Linked DNA regions of Homo sapiens: all the other regions are linked to region 6. Evidence: promoter capture Hi-C in human tissues and cell types (Jung and others, 2019). All regions are on one chromosome and are shown on one strand. Each heading gives the region's core, a stretch centred on a gene start or on the middle of the fragment in contact. The rest is flanking DNA. Distances are from core to core; before and after follow the strand shown.

What was found. Contacts are between HindIII fragments. The study calls those that stand out against the background at their distance.
Region 1: a fragment that was not itself captured here is called in contact with the fragment with the promoter of POMK in region 6 in 2 of the 25 tissues and cell types used here (aorta and mesendoderm cells).
Region 2: a contact is called between a fragment that was not itself captured here and the fragment with the promoter of POMK in region 6, in 1 of the 25 tissues and cell types used here (spleen).
Region 3: a contact is called between a fragment that was not itself captured here and the fragment with the promoter of POMK in region 6, in 1 of the 25 tissues and cell types used here (hippocampus).
Region 4: a fragment that was not itself captured here is called in contact with the fragment with the promoter of POMK in region 6 in 1 of the 25 tissues and cell types used here (lymphoblastoid cells).
Region 5: a fragment that was not itself captured here is called in contact with the fragment with the promoter of POMK in region 6 in 2 of the 25 tissues and cell types used here (lymphoblastoid cells and mesenchymal stem cells).

What each region holds. Positions count from the first base shown.
Region 1 is chr8:42,961,087-42,963,790 of GRCh38, forward strand. All of the region lies in intron 8 of HOOK3 (hook microtubule tethering protein 3), which reads left to right. Among named protein-coding and RNA genes, the nearest start is that of HOOK3, 65 kb to the left of the region's middle. The HindIII fragment of the contact is 8,862 bases long and covers 1-2,704 here.
Region 2 is chr8:42,848,871-42,851,570 of GRCh38, forward strand. It overlaps a transcript of RNF170 not described here. Among named protein-coding and RNA genes, the nearest start is that of THAP1, 6.9 kb to the left of the region's middle. The HindIII fragment of the contact is 4,868 bases long and covers 1-2,700 here.
Region 3 is chr8:42,886,075-42,888,774 of GRCh38, forward strand. RNF170 (ring finger protein 170) reads right to left here. Exons shown (of 7, transcript NM_030954.4): 2 at 1,654-1,797. The coding sequence starts at 1,790. Among named protein-coding and RNA genes, the nearest start is that of MIR4469, 8.8 kb to the right of the region's middle. The HindIII fragment of the contact is 7,579 bases long and covers 1-2,700 here.
Region 4 is chr8:43,254,134-43,256,895 of GRCh38, forward strand. It overlaps the pseudogene AFG3L2P1. Among named protein-coding and RNA genes, the nearest start is that of POTEA, 37 kb to the right of the region's middle. The HindIII fragment of the contact is 6,739 bases long and covers 1-2,762 here.
Region 5 is chr8:43,335,592-43,338,291 of GRCh38, forward strand. All of the region lies in intron 9 of POTEA (POTE ankyrin domain family member A (gene/pseudogene)), which reads left to right. Among named protein-coding and RNA genes, the nearest start is that of POTEA, 44 kb to the left of the region's middle. The HindIII fragment of the contact is 4,537 bases long and covers 1-2,700 here.
Region 6 is chr8:43,092,020-43,094,792 of GRCh38, forward strand. It overlaps POMK (protein O-mannose kinase), which reads left to right and starts at 1,496. Exons shown (of 5, transcript NM_032237.5): 1 at 1,496-1,544. RefSeq lists enhancers at 460-1,366, 1,367-2,272 and a silencer at 1,524-1,733. The HindIII fragment of the contact is 5,704 bases long and covers 1-2,773 here.

The DNA.
Region 1 (2,704 bases), core at 205-2,704, 130 kb before region 6:
AACCAGGTCTTGCAAAAATTCCCTCACTTGTGAGGACACTACCAAGCCATTCATGAGTGATCCAGTGCTGTGATCCAAACACCTCCCACCAGGCCCCACCTCCAACATTTGGGACTACATTTCAACATGAGATTTGGAGGGGATAAATATCCAAACCATATCACTCTGCATAGCACTTTATATTCTGGTTTTTACATGTATTTATTAATTTACTTTCTTGTGCAATGATTTGTTTTTACTTATAATTTGTTTTGAATATATAACACATGAGTAAGAACTTCCCTTTTTTCATCACTGTATCCCTTGCACTTAGAAAACTGCAACCATACCTAGCACATAGTAGGTGAGTGAGTGAATGAGTGGGTGGGTGACTGAGTGAAATGAATCAGTAAGTAGTTTAAAGTTGCAGAGGTGATCAATGAAAGAAGTGAGAACAGTGATTAACTATATTTATGGTAGGAAGGAATGACTCAAGTTGCTATAATCAAACATGTCAGAGGAGAGAGTCACTAGATAATGTCTAAGGTTGATAAGTCAAGAAATAATTGTGTAACATTATTTAGATATGTAAAGTGACAACCAAAAGCAATAAAATTAGGAACCGTAAAAATATTCTCTGGAGAGTGGGAAAACTCCATAGGAAACTAGGTTTTTGTTATAAGCCCCTTTGCTTTGTTATTTTCTTAAATAATCATGTTTATGTTTTGTTTTGTTTTTTGAGACAGGGTCTCACTCTGTCACCCAGGCTAGAGTGCAGTGGTGCAATCTTGGCTCACTGCAACCTCCGCCTCCTGGGCTAAAGCAATCCTCCCACCTCATCCTCCCGAGTAGCAGGGACTGCAAGCGCATGCCACCACACCCAGCTAATTCTTTTATGTTTCGTAGAGTTGGGGTTTTGCCATATTGCCCAGGCTGGTCTTAAACTCCTGAGCTCCGGTGATCTGCCCACCTCCGTCTCCCAAAGTGCTGGGATTACAGGTGTGAGCCACCTCATCTGGCTCATTGTTTTGTTTTTTGAGACAGGGTCATGCTGTGTCATTTAGGCTGAAGTGCAGTGGCATGATCACAGCTTGCTGCACTCAACTTCCTGGGCTTAAGTGATCCTCCCACCTCAGCCTTCCAAATAGCTGGGGCCACAGGTGCCTACCACTAGGCTTGGCTAAAATTTTCATTTCTTTTTTTTTTTTTTTTTTTGGTAGAAATGGGGTCTTGTTATGCTACCCAGGCTGGTCTCAAAACTCCTGGCCCCAAGCAGTCCTACCAACTTGGCCTCCCAAAGTGCTTGGATTAAAGGCGTGACCCACTGCACCTGGCCCGTGTGTTTTTTTTTTTTTTTTTGAAATAGAGTCTTGCTTTGTCGTCCAGGATGGAGTGCAGTGGTGTGATCGTGGCTCACTATAGCCTCGACCTCTTGGACTCGAGTGATCCTCCTGCCTCAGCCTCCCAAGTAGTGGGGACCATAGGCATTCACCACCACACCCAGCTAATTTTTTATTTTTTGTGGAGACAGGGTCTCACTGTGTTGCCCAGGCTGTTCTCCAACTCCTAGCTCAAGTAATCCTCCTCCCTCAGTCTCCCAAAGTGCTAGGATTACAGGCAGGAGCCACCATGCCAGCCATGTTTATGTTTTGAAAATTAGATTCTTTTTGTCTGTGTGTAAAAAGGAGTTCTGCCAAATATATTGACTTTTTTTGGTCTGACTTCTTCTTCTTTTTTTTTTTTTTTTTTTTTTGAGACAAAGTCTCGCTCTTGTCCCCCAGTCTGGAGTGCAATGGCACGATCTTAGCTCACTGCAACTTCTGCCTCCCAGGTTCAAGCTATTCTCTTGCCTCAGCCTCCTGAGTAGCTGGGATTACAGGCGTTTGCCACCACGCCTGGCTAATTTTTGTATTTTTAGTAGAGATGGGGTTTCACCATGTTGGCCAGGCTGGTCTCGAACTCCTGACCTCAGGTGATCCACCCACCTCGGCCTCCCAAAGTGCTGGGATTACAGGTGTGAGCTGCTGCACCCAGCCTTTTGTCTGACTTCTTACGTTATTTTGAGATTCATCTATGTTGTAGCTGTAAATTGTTAATTCTTTCTTATTGCTGAGTAGTAGTACAGGTTGAGTATTCCATATATGAAATTCGGGATATTTTTGGATTTGGGGATATTCGCATTATATGCTTACTGGTTGAGCATCCTAAATCCAAAAATCCAAAAGCTGAAATGGCTCCAATGAACATTTCTTTTGAGTGTCATGTAGGTGCTCAGAAACATTCAGATTTTGAAGCATTTCTGAGTTTGGATTTTTGGATTTGGGATGCAAATCATTTATCCATTTGCTTGTTGGCAAACGTTTGGATTGTTTCCAGTTTTCTTCTATTACAAATGAAGCTGCTATAAACATTGTTCCTAAGTCTTCGTGTGGGCGTATGCTTTTATTTCTCTGAGTAAATACCTAGGAGTAGGATGGCTAAATCAGTCATGTGGTAGTTGCATGTTTAATTCTTTAAGAAATTGCTAAACTATTTTCCAAAATGTTTGAAACATTTTATATTCTCACCACAAGTTTCTTTGCCAACATTTGGTACAGTCAGTCTTTTTAATTTTATTTATTCTAGTGGGAGTGTAGTTATATAATAATGTGATTTTAATTTGCATTTCCTTGATAACTAATGATTATTTATTAGTGTGCTTCTTTGCCATCTCTATATCTTGTCT
Region 2 (2,700 bases), core at 174-2,673, 240 kb before region 6:
CAAAAAAAAAAAAAAAAAACCCAAAAAATTAGCTGGGCATGGTGGTGGGCACCTGTAGTTCCAGCTACTCAGGAGGCTGAGGCAGGAGAATGGCATGAACCCGGGAGGCGGAGGTTGCAGTGAGCCAAGATAGCGCCACTGCACTCCAGCCTGGGCGACAGAGTGAGACTCTGTCTCAAAAAAAAAATTTTTTTTCCTTTACATTCACAACTTGGCTGTTTGGCACAAGAGGCCTAGCTCTCAGCCTGTCGTGCCTTTCAACATGCCTTCCTCACTACACTTGATCATTTCTACCTTATGATTGAAAGTAAGAATCTTAGCAAGGACTTAGTGGGCATTGGTATGGTTACTAATTGGCCTAATTTCAATGTTGTTGTGTCTCAGGCAATAGGGAGGCCCAAGGAGAGCGAGAGAGACTAGGGAATGGCCAGTCAGTGGTGAGTGAGAACACATACAACTTGTATCAATTAAGCTCACCATAAGTGGGTGCGGTTTGTAGCACTCCAAAACAAAGATCAGTAGTAACATTAAAGATCACTGATCACGGATCACCATAACAGCTATAATAATAATGAGAAAGTTTGCAATATTGCGAGAATTACCAAAATGTGACAGAGACATGACTTGAGTACGTGCTGCTGGAAAAATGGTGCCAATGGACTTGCTCGAAGCCGCGATGCCACAAACATTCAATTTGTAAAAAGTACAATATCTGCAAAAATCAATAAAGCAAATTACAATAAAATGAGGTCTGCCATTACCAAAATGCCAGAATAGTAGTTTATTAGCATTACCATGGATATTGAGACTGCTGGGAATATCTCTGAGGTCCTCTGTGCCTGTGTCTGATAAAGGTCAGAATGGATAACATTGTGAACTGAGAAAGTGTATTTCAACTTAGAGTTCCCTGATATTGTTTTCTCATTCATTGATTCAACAAATAGTTACTGACTATGCTGCACGCATAGTTCTGGGGGCTTGGGATATGTCAGTGAAGGAGATTTCTGCCCTCAGGGAGCTAATGTTCTCAAAGACATTAGGGAGGCAGATAGCAAACACGTGACCACAGAGTATGTTAGCCGGTGAGAGGTGCTCTGTGGGCTGAGGGAGTTGCAAGTTTCCTTATGGTGGACAGGACAGGCCTAACAGAGGAAATGGCTATTGTGCGAAGATCTGGAGTTGGTGAGAGTTGGCTGTGAGGATGCCCGGCGGAGGAGCCTAGCAGTCAGAGGGACTGGCCAGGGCAGAGCTCCTGAGGCTGGGCGTCTTCAGCCTGCTCAAAGGACAGCAAGGAGGGCTGGATGGCTGGAGCAGAGTGAGCTGTGGGGACAAATGTGAGATGAGGTTAGAGAGGAAATGAGCAACCAAGGTCACATGGGGCCTTGCAGGCTGGCGTGAGGACTTTACCTTTACTCTGTGGGAAAGGGAGAGCAGGCTTTCCAGCAGAGTCACACTTGAGATGATCATCGGGCTGCGTTGCATGTAGGGAGCCAGGCACTTGGTGCCTGGGAGACTGCCTGGAAGGTCGCTGTGATCCTTTAGGTGAGAAGTGAGGGTGGCTTAGACCTGGGCGGCAGCCATGACTGAGTAAGAAGTGATCTTTCCTTGTCTTCTGCCCTTTCCTGTCTTTCCCTTGCTTTATTTATTAATCTTTAATGTGTTGAGCACTACTGTGGTGGCAGGCATAATGGTACATCTGTGAATATCTGGGTGGACAAAACTAACATTGTCTCTGTTTTCATAGAGCTTGTGTTCTAGTGAGAAGCAGACAGACAATGGAAATGTCAATATGATGATGCTGTGCTGAGATGTCTGAATGCCTCAGAGTGCCCTGGGGTAAGGGGAGGGGAGGGTCACTGCCTACTTTTGCACTACTTTTGCACTGCCTACTTTTGGGTAGTCTGAGTGAGGAGGGAACATTTAACCTGAGAACCAAAGGATGGAAACACAGTCTAGTAACGTGAAGCATAAACGTGGTGAGGCTGAAGGGAGCATTCGGTCATGGGGTATATGCTGAGGCCCTGACCTGCATCCGACTGTACAGGCAGGAGAGTTCTGTGTGTCCAGGCATGCAACAGCCTCTTGATGGGTCTGCTCACTTGCACGGCTGCTCTTCTCTGATGAACCCTACACACGGTAGTCAGAATGACCTTTTAAAAATGTTTGTTAGATCATGTCTTCCCACTGCACGTAAATCCAAATCAACAGCCTTCCTGCTTCTTCAACCTCACTTCATGCCCTCCTTCCAGCTCCCTGGGCTCTACCACCACAGCCCCCATTGGGCTCCTGGACACACAGAACTCTCCTTGGACTGCGGTGGTGGCAGAGGGTATAGAGTGATAGGATTCGACATGTCAATGGTAGAAATGCCAGGGCTTGTTGATAGATGGTTATAAGAGTAAGAGAGGAGGCTGGGTGCAGTGGCTCACACCTGTAATCTCAGCAATTTGGGAGGCCGGGACTGGCGGATTACCTGAGATCAGGAGTTCCAGACCAGCCTGGCCAGGGTTTAGTAGAAACCCTGTCTCTACTAAAAATAGAAAAATTAGTTGGGTGTGGTGGTGGGCATCTGTAGTCCCAGCTACTCGGGAGACTGAGGCAGGAGAATCGCTTGAGCCCAGGAAGCGGAGGTTGCAGTGAGCCGAGATTGTGCCATTGCACTCCAGCCTGGGTGACAGAGTGAGACTCCGTCTCAAAAAA
Region 3 (2,700 bases), core at 97-2,596, 210 kb before region 6:
TTAGCCGGGCGTGGTGGTGGGCACCTGTAGTCCCAGCTACTCAGGAGGCTGAGGCAGGAGAATGGCGTGAACCCGGGAAGTGGAGCTTGCAGTGAGCCGAGATCACGCCACTGCACTCCAGCCTGGGCAACAGAGTGAGACTCGGTCTCAAAAAAAAAAATAATAATAATAATAGAAAAGGCCCAAGGACAGAGCCCTGCAGCAATATACAATGTCCTTCTATTTGGTGTATATTAAAACATTAGTCAGGAATCCTAAGAACAACCTGCTTAGTGGAGTTCACTTAACTCTGCTATCATCTAGTCATTATTTCCCCCATGATATCCACAGTGTATCACCAGTATCAATCACTCTGGATTATCACTCTATAAAATACCCGATTGAAATCAAGATAATGTTACCCTAATAAGAGACTATCTTGGATCACTGCAACCTCTGCCTCCCAAGTTCAAGTGATTCTCACGCCTCAGCCGCCCAAGTAGCTGGGATTATAGGCACCTGCCACCATGCCCAGCTAATTTTTGTATTTTTAGTAGAGACGAGGGTTTCACCATGTTGGCCAGGCTAGTCTCGAACTCCTGACCTCAGGTGATCCGCCTGCCTCAGCCTCCCAAGGTGCTGGGATTACCGGCGTGAGCCACCACATCCAGCCTAAATTAATTTTAGAATCAGGTGCAGTGGTGCATACCTGTAGTCCCAGCAACCTGGGAAGCTGGGATGGGAGGACTGCTTGAGTCCAGGAGTTCAAGTCCAACTGGGGCAATGTAGCGAGACCCTGTCTCTAAAATAAATAAATAGGCTGGGCATAGTGGCTCATGAGTGTAATCCCAGCACTTTGGGAGGCTGAGTCGGGTGGTTCACTTGAGGTCAGGAGTTTGAGACCAGCCTGGCCAACCTAGCGAAATCCTGTCTCTACAAAAAAATACAAAAAATTAGGGCCAGGTGCAGTGGCTCAAGCCTGTAATCCCAGCACTTTGGGAGGCTGACGCAGGTGGATCACCTCAGGTCAGGAGTTTGAGACCAGCCTGATCAACATGGAGAAACCCCATCTCTACTAAAAATATAAAATAAGCCGGGCATGGTGGCATGTGCCTGTAATCCCAGCTATTTGGGAGGCTGAGGCAGGAGAATCGCTTGAACCCCAGAGGCAGAGGTTGTGGTGAGCTGAGACAGTGCCATGGCACTCCAGCCTGGACGACACATTGAGACTCCGTCTCAAAAAATAAATAAATAAATAAATAAGTAAAAAAATTAATTCTAATATTAGTTCCCTTTTTACTATACAAGTCTTTTTTTGCCTCAATTTTTCCATTTAAAACTGAAAGTATTTTGCACTTATCATCTATATCACCTACAAGTTGATGGATTTAATTATGGAAATTAAAGTTTTTTAAATTGCCATACGCCAATAGAAAGTACTAATATTTTATTCAAAATGTGGATGATAAATTTAATTATTATTTGGTAAGACAGCTGATGACAGGAAATATATGTTAGCATTCAAAGCCCCGTGGAAAATAAAATACCTTAGTAAACATCTACAATCACTGAGATCTGTTACTTGCTGTTCATATTAAGTATTATACATTATTAGGGGTCAAAAAGTCAGCAGCCCTTGCAAATCTACTCAATTCTTTTGTCCTTAAATCTCACCTGAAAAGTGCATATACCAGGGTAGCAATCAAAGCGAAACTGACCACAACTGCCACAAGTACTTGGTCGCTTACTCCTTCTATAACTGAATCATCATCCAGTTTCAAACTTTGAACTTCACCTTGATATTTGGCCATTCCAGGTCTAAAATAAGAAGAAACAAGATGAGAGTTACAAATGACACAGTGAAAATGAAATATACTAATAAAAGCAATGTAAATATAACTGACTTCTAATATATTTGGTTTCTGATAGGCTGCAATTAAGTACAACTCCAGTGGGGACTGATGGAGTTCTTTAAAATTTGCCAGACACATTATTTTGTGGAGAACAAAATTCTATTTCTATTTTTTTTGGATGGAGTCTCTTGCTCTGTTGCCAGGCTGGAGTGCAGTGATGCGGATCTCAGCTCACTGCAACGTCCGCCTCCCGGGTTCAAGCAATTCCCCTCCCTCAGCCTCCCAAGTAGCTGGGACTACAGGCGCGCACCACTACGCCTGGCTAATTTTTTGTATTTTAGTAGAGACAGGGTTTCACCGTGTTAGCCAGGATGGTCTTGATCTCCTGACCTCGTGATCCACCTGCCTCGGCCTCCCAAAGTGCCGGGATTACAGGCATGAGCCACTGCACCCAGCCAAATTCTATTTCTTTTAAGGAAAACAATTACTATAATTTATCATTTATTTATGTATTTTTTAAAAATGTTTTTTCCTCTTCAAGCTTAACCCCTTTAAAAAAAAAAAGCCATTCTTGGGCCAGATGCAGTGGCTCACGCCTGTAATCCCAGCATTATGGGAGGCTGAGGCAGGCGGATCACCTGAGGTCAGAAGTTCGAGACCAGCCTGGTCAACATGGTGAAACCCCGTCTCTACTAAAAATACAAAATTTAGCCGGGTGACGTGTGCCTGTAATGTCAGCTACTCTGGAGGCTAAGGCAGGAGAATCGCTTGAACCTGGGAGGCAGAGGTTGTAGTGAGGCCCAGAGAGCGCCACTGTACTCCAGCCTGGGAGACAGAGCAAGACCCTGTCCCCCGCCCCCCAACCTCC
Region 4 (2,762 bases), core at 170-2,669, 160 kb after region 6:
TCATTCTGATTTTCTACTCAAGAAAATCTCATGTGTATGGTTACACTGTGGTTATCTAAATGTGTAATTATGTGTCAAAGTAAATTAGTGCTGCTATCTAAATGACACTTCTGGAAATATTCTTGTAATCTTTGTTGATTACTCAACCCAAGTCTCACTATTAGTCTTTCAAGTGGCTTATGGGCTGGGAAACTAATTTAGCCATATACCATGTGATCTTCTGAACCAGATAAGCATAAAGAAAATTGCTAAAGAAATAAGCTCTAGATTCTTTTTTCTGTATTCATTTAAAGACGAATTACATTTATTTAAATGATAAAATGGTAATACAGTGGGAGGGAAGCAATGACTGAGAAGAGACATAAAAATATATCTTGCCTTGAGAGTTGCAACAAATATTCCCATCCAAAGAAGTCTGTTTAATGTGCTTTCATGCATGCAAGTTTATCTGTTTGACTCAAACTGTTTAAACTTATTATTCCATCATGGTCATTTTAAATATTTTTGGAAACAAATACATATACTTTCACATATTAAAAAAAATCACCACTCTCCAATGTTTCTGTTGAATCAGAATTTACGTTATGTTGTTTATTAAAATATGTTAAGTTTTGACATGTATGATTTTGTCATATAAGTAGCATAACCCCTCAGCCAAAAATTTAGCATTTGATTCTTTAGTTGAAAGCTGAGTTCTGTACATTTTGTTCTAAAGATAGACAAAAATCTAGAGATTTTCTTTTTTCAAAGTAAAAGCAGATGAGGCCTCCCACTACCCTCGGAGGCATGATCTAGGAGACAGCAGAAAGCAGTTTCAATTCTAGTCATATTTCTAGCTCTAGCTCTACATGCAAGTACCTCTGAGAAGTATTTTCATTGGCCTATACACAATGAGGATACTGATACATGTATATTATAAAATAAAAATGTGAAATACAGATGTAGCTAACATTTTACAACTGAAGCATTCTTCTAGTCACTGGTAAATGAAAACACCTTAACTAAATCATATGGCAACTACATGTGTGAAGCTTACTAAATAAATTGTTTCATAAGGCATTTTTTATAGAGAAGTATTTATTCTCCCCAGTCATTCCCTGCTTACTCCACTTTCTATTGGGCTTTTTGCATGTCAAATTTGAAAACATGAACAAACAAAATAAAGTGAACATGGTAGTTTATTATTATGAAAGTAATTGTAATGTATAAGTTAGATGTCCCTGTGCTATTGACAAAATTCTCTAAAAACCTTTTGAATAAATGTGACAAAGACTACCTAAGTTGATGTCCACAATTTGAGAGAAAAGAAAGACAAAAACAGTCCTTGAGGACTCAGATGCCTCAGGAAGATTTAAGAAGTTTTTATACTTTGATGGAGCTTTTAAGAAAAATTCATCTATTTTTTTCCTTGCTCTGGTCACATACTGAGAGGACTTACAGACTGCTTACTTAATAGTATGGATTTGTATTTTTCTTAGAGTAAAGTAGCATCCTGATTTTGAAATAGTTCCTGTAGTTTGTTTAAAGAAAGCAGGAAAGAAACAAAACAAGAAAAAAAGGAAAGAAGGAAGAAAAAAAGAAAGTGAGGAAGGAAGAAGGGAAGGAAGAAAAAATATGGAAGAAAGGAAGAATTTCTTTTAGAGTAGTGGAAAGCTGTCAAAATCTGCTTAAGAAAACCGTTTGTATAAAATGTTTTGTCTTGCCCTCCAAAGCTCAAAGTCTCTGGTCCTGCTGATGGCTTTCCTATCTAGAATATACAGATCTTCCACAAATTGAAAAACTAAAATATAGAAATATATTTTGTACAGGTGGCGGATTTGAAATGTTTTATCAAGGCTAAAACAGGATGTATATCATTATAATACTTTTCCTTCACATTCTGCTCTGAATTTGCTCAGTCAGCACCATTCCACTTAATAAGGCTTAGATCAAATCAAATCAAACTTTGATTTGAATATTACAGAAGAGAACACATGGTAGGAGCTTGTATATTCTCTGTCTCTCTTACTCTCTCTCATGTCTGAGAGAGAATACCTTGGGGTTGACCAGCTAGACAGTTTATGAGAAGGTAGTATCTCCCTGTTTTCATTCTCCAGGAATACTGAACAGTGTATTATTGAATTATATTTGATTAAAATATACTGATGGAAAAGAGCACTTCAGAGTGTCCAAAATGGAAGTAAATGTAAATCTTTTTATAATTTATAAATACCAAGTTTATAAAACGAATCTTCTCTTGTAGATTTGTAGATTGTAGATTTCTGCTCATAGCAGAAAGCAGAGGCCAAGATAATTTTAAATTATCTTACTTTTAAAAATATAATTATTTTCTAAAGTGAACTTAAAGCAAAATCTAAATACAGAAAAATGCCTGATTACAAGGGTGCAGCTCAAAGAGCTTTTACAGAGTTAGGCACCTGTGAAAGCAGCACAGATTAAGAAACAGCACTGAGCCTCCCCACCCAACTCATCGCCGTGTCTCTCCATAGCTACATCCTAACTTCTAATTAGATTTCTAGATTGGATTTCTCAGGCTTTGAGTTTCTCACAAGTGGGGTGATACAGTAAGTTTTCTTTTGTGCCTTCTTTTTACAAATGATTTTTTGTGAAATTCATTCATGTTGTTATGAATAGTTACAGGTCATTCATTTTCATAGCTTTATTGCAGTCCATGTGAATATAGATACTTTGTTTATCCATTTTCCTATTTACAGACCTTTGAGGAGTTTCTGGAGTAGGGTTGATGCTAATTGTGCTGCAAT
Region 5 (2,700 bases), core at 155-2,654, 240 kb after region 6:
TTTGATTGATTCTCACTTAAAAAATGTTTGACAAGGTTCACTCTAACAACTTAGCCTGGTAATTATATGCATAAATTCTTTTGGCTCTTTATAATAAGCTACATTCTTAATATTTTTTCATTTAGGGAGAAAATCCCAATATTGTGGTTATTCACCATTTATTATTTTACTGGTAATCATGATAATTTTAATTATGGTAAAATGCATCAGAGGAATTGCAAACTTTACTGGTATTTTATCTGAAAAATATTAGGGTGGTAAATTTAATGGACTTACAAATTCTTTCCAACGGATTATGAAACTTCAGTATTTGAAATAAAAAAACAGAGTTGGAATTTTTTGCTTGCTGTATAAGAGGTGTACTGATCAGGCACTGTCTGCTCTGATGGAGCAGCTGCTGCTGCTTGGCTGTCTTTCAGAAGCAAGCTGCTCACATTGATATTGGTGGGCAAGCAAGGGCAGCGGTCATTGATCGATTGACTAGATTTAGAACTTGCCCTGGGTGGCTTCTTGTTATCATGGCTACAGGTCAGTTCTTTTCTAAGTTTGTGCTGTTTAAAGGTTGCCTTCCATTAACTATTTTCAAAATGAAACTATTTTATATTCCAGAATTGCATACTTAATTTTAAAGTTTTTTCAAGATGAATTGGTTAATAATAGCTCTCAGGAAGACCTTTTTTTTTTTTTTTTTTTGCTACATAGTCTTGTCTTAACCAGAAGAGTTCTCTGTATAATTTATTTCTTAAAAATAATGGTTTTGTTTTTGTTTTCAGTGTTTTTAGAAGCTTTTGCTCAAGTCCTAACATAAACTCCAATGGGAGATTTTAATCTCTTTGTCAGTTCATGGATGTGTATGATAGTGATATTCTCTCTTTTTAAATTCCTTTTCTTGTTCACTTTCTTCTTTGTACAATAATAGTGATATTCTTGTGCATGTTTACCTCATTAAAAAGTAATTACAATTTTCTGCTGGCAAATCCAGCTTTTTATATTTTGACTAAATAGGAGGCTAAAAGTGAAGAACATTTACCAGATTGTTTTATTTTCAAACAAAATCATAACTAATCAAAAATTGCTATTTTTGAAATATAAATAATGACATTTAGATATTTTAAAAGTAAGGATAGCCCCCGATGTAGGTTGGCTTTGTGTCCCCACCCAAATCTCATGTCAAATTGTGATTCCCAGGTGTTGTGAGAAAGACCTGGTGGGAGGTGATTAGATCATAGGGTTGGTTTCCCCCATGCTGTTCTCATGATAGTGAATGAGTTTTCACAAGAGCTGATGGTTTCTTAAAGGGCTCTATCCCCTTCACTTCTCTCTCTCCTGCCACCTTATGAAGAAGGTGTCTGCTTCCCCTTCACCTTACCATGATTGTAAGTTTTCTGAGGCCTCCCCAGCCATGTGTAACTGTGAATCAATTAAGCTTCTTTCCTTTATGAATTACCCCATCTCAGATATTTCTTTGTAGCAGTGTGAAAATGGACTAATACAGAGAATTGGTACCAGGGATAGTGGGGTATTGTTAAAAAGATAATGTGAAAAGGTGGAAGTGACTTTGGAACTGAGTAACAGAGGTTTTAACAGTTTGGAGGGCTCAAAAGAAGACAGGAAGATGTGGGAAAGTTTGGAACTTCCTACAGACTTGTTGAATAGTTTTTTTTACCAAAATGCTGATAGTGATATGGCCAATGAAGTCCAGGCTGAGGTGATCTTAGGTGGAGATAAGGAACTTGTTGGGGACTGGAACAAAGGTGACTCTTGATATGCTTTAGCAAAGAGACTGACAGCATTTTGCCCCTGCACTAGCAATCTGTAAAACTTTGAACTTGAGAGAGATGATTTAGGCTATCTGGTAGAAGAAATTTCTAAGCAGCAAGGCATTCAAGAGGTGACCTGGTTGATTCTGAAAGCATTCAGTTTTATGCATTCACAAAGAGATGGTTTTAAGCTGGGGCTTATGTTTAAAAGGGAAGCAGAGCATAAATTTGGAAAATTTGTAGCCTGACCATTTGGTAGAAAAGAGAAACAACACATTTTCTATGGACGAATGCAAGTTGGCTGCAGAAATTTGCATAAATAACGAGGAGCGGAATGTTAATTGCCATGAAATGGAGAAAGTGTCTTTAGGGCATGACAGAGATCTTCGTGGCAGCCACTCGCATCACAGGCCCAGAGTCCTGGAAGGAAAAAATGGTTTCATAGGTTTGGGTCCAGGGCCCTGGTACTGTGTGCAGCCTCAGGACTTGCTGCCCTGCATTCAGCCACTACAGGTCCAACTGTGGCTAAAAGGGACCAAGGAGAAACTTAGCCTTTATGAATTACCCAGTCTTCAGTATTTCTTTATAGCAGTGTGAAAATGGACTAATACACCCTCCCTGAAGACATTTTCCTGATTTCGTCTTTCATGTTTTATGTGCCACAGCTACTTTTGAAATTGTATTTAAAGGTAAACATTATTATATTGAATAATAGAAACAGAAATATAGCCCAAATCTAATTGTGATTTTCATGTTTAACAGTCATTTCTCATATTCAGTGGACTCCAGCTTTTTAATATAGCATTCAAGTGTAGTGTAGATTCATCTCCTATTCTTAGCTTCCAAGTATTTTACACTTTTCCTTTCAAGTTCTTAGTAAGCATCTAGACTTCATGTGCTTAATCTTTGTGCTCACATTCTGTTCTCTAACTGGAAGGAT
Region 6 (2,773 bases), core at 246-2,745:
TCCGGGGGACCGGAGCGTTGGAGGCTTGCTCACGGCCCCGAGCTCTCGGCCTCCACCCAATTTATTGGTGTATATTCACACTGTTGTGCAACCATCACCCCCATCCATCTCCAGGACTTTACCATCTTCTCACACTGAAACTGTGCACCCGTTAGTATTTTTCATGGCTATGTGGATGTAATATAATTTCTTTCAGAAACCCCTATTGTTATACATTCAGGTTTCTTTTTTTCTCTATTATAAATATCTTTTATCAGCAATGCTTCAGCAAGATCTCTTGTGCATACATCTTGCAGACATATTATTTCTTTTTCTTTTTTTTTTTTTTTTTTTTTGAGACGGAGTCTCGCTCTGTCACCCAGGCTGGAGTACAGTGGCGCGATCTCGGCTCACTGCAAGCTCCGCCTCCCGGGTTCACGCCATTCTCACGCCCGCCACCATGCCCGGCTAATTTTTTGTATTTTTAGTAGAGACGGGGTTTCACCGTGTTATCCAGGATGGTCTCGGTCTCCTGACCTCGTGATCCGCCCACCTCGGCCTCCCAAAGTCCTGGGATTACAGGCATGAGCCACGGCGCCCGGCCACAGACGTTATTTCTGAAGGATAAATTCCTAGAAATGGATTTGCTAGGGCACGTAGGAGGAATTCCAATTTACACTCACTTGTATGTGTGAGGAAACTTTCAGACTCTACTGTAACGACAGGAGGTATTACCGCTGTTTGTCCATGTGATAGGCAAACGTTTCTGTTAATTTTAATACTGTTTGGATAGCTAGTACCGGCTCAGTTTTTTTAACCCACACCATGTTACTGTCTTGATTCTGGACTTTCGCAGTGTGTCAGTGTAGAAGCAGCTAACGCTTCCGATGTACACAACCTAGACGTTCCATGACCCAGCTGACTTCGATGCTGCAAGCCTCCCTTTCGGTTTCCCGGAGCAAGCGCCCGAGTGCGTGTTGGGCTCCCGGCAGGGCTCCTGGCCGGCCCTCGACGGACTTCCCCGCCTTTGCCCAGTCCTGCCCCTCCGCGGAGGCTTGCCAAGGTCTTGTCTGCTGCGCTTGATGTGTGCAGCTCAGCTTTACTGCGTCTAGGCTAAGCCCCACAGTTTCTTTTACAGAGCGATTGTCCAACTTCAGGCATCTGGGTCCCCGAGTGGCGGGTCTGGGCCGGAGCTGGGAATCAGCCTTTCCAGCAAGGTCCCTGCAGATGCCGCGGGTCTGAGGACTACGCTTTGGAAGGCCTCGCAGTGCGTCTAGATCTGACAGCTGCTCTGCATGAGCCTGGCTCCAGGCTGAAGCAATAGTCGGTCAACACAAAATCGTTCTCCCAAGTTAGGGAAGCAGAAGCCAGACAGGGAGACTGGGTAGGTGCGCGCTGGTACCGCCGCGGCGTTCGCTCCGGCTTCAGTGCACGGCCGGAGGAGGACGCCAGGGGGCAGCAGCGCCACGCTCACCCGCCCAGGACGCGCTTCCGAACGCGCAAGCGCAGTAGGCCCAGTGCGTGCTGGCCCGGGGTGGCAGGAGCCGCAGAGGCTTGGGCTGCAGGTAGGTGCTGCGGCGAGGGGTGAGAGGGCGAAGGGGCGAGGGGGCGTGCAGCTGGGTTTCCCGGGGGACCCTGTACGTGGCCTGGGCCGCACCCCCCGCAGCCCCGGCCGCCTGCCCGCGGCCTGTCCGGAGGCTCCCTAGGAGGCTGCGCTGGGCCTGAGCGGCCGTGTCCACCGCGCCCAGCCCCTATCTCCGCGTCCACCCCTGCGCGGTAGCGGGACGTTAAAGAACCAGAGAAGGGCCCGGCGAGGTGGCTCCAGCCTGTAATCCCAGCGCTTTGGGAGGCCGAGGCGGGAGGATCGCGTGAGCTCAGGCGAGAGCAGCCTGGGCAACATGGCGGAACTTCTGTCTCCGTAAAAAAGCACTTAGCCGGGCGCGGTGGCGCCGCCTATAGTCTTATCTACTCCGGAGGCTGAGGCGGGAGAATGCTTGAACCCGGCGGGGGCGGAGGTTTCAGTGAGCCGAAATCGCGCCACTGCACTTCAGCCTGGGGGCCAGAGTGAGAGGCTGTTTCTATTATTATTACTTTATCATTATTATTATTATTTGAGACGGAGTCTCGCTCTGTCGCCCAGGCTGGAGTGTAGTGGCGCGGTCTTGGCTCCTGGGATTACAGGCGTCCGCCACCACGCCCGGCTAATTTTTGTATTTTTAGTAGAAACGGGGTTTCCCCATGTTGGTCAGGCTGGTCTCGAACGCCTGACCTCAGGTGATCCGCCCGCCTCTGCCTCCCAAAGTGCTGGGATTACAGGCGTGAGCTACTGGGTCCGGCAGAGGCTGTCTCTGTTTAAAAAAACAAAAACCAAACCAAACCAAAACAAAACAAAAAACAAAAAAACCAGAAAGGACCGAGGACTCTGTCTCAGCTCTTTGCCTTTGGGTGTTTATTCTGCACGAGATCATTGTTGCCAGGAGGTGTTAAGTGTAATCATATTCTCTTTTTTTTAGAAAGCAAAATTTCGCTGTTTTGTTGCATAATCTTGTCTTTGCCACCCTTTGCCTTTGCTATAGAACCTTAAGGCTAAATAAGCGTTCAGAATATTTAAAATAATCCTCTTAATGTACCTTGTGCTTTATTGGCGCAATGGAATTCTACTCTAAACTGTATTGGATGACATTACTCTGTGTCTTCCCTAGTTGTAGAAAATATCTTGTAAGTCGGTAAAAACTAGTTTTGTCCCTTTGCTTTTCTTTTCTTTTTAAGCTGTAAATGTGGAGCAGTGGGTCCC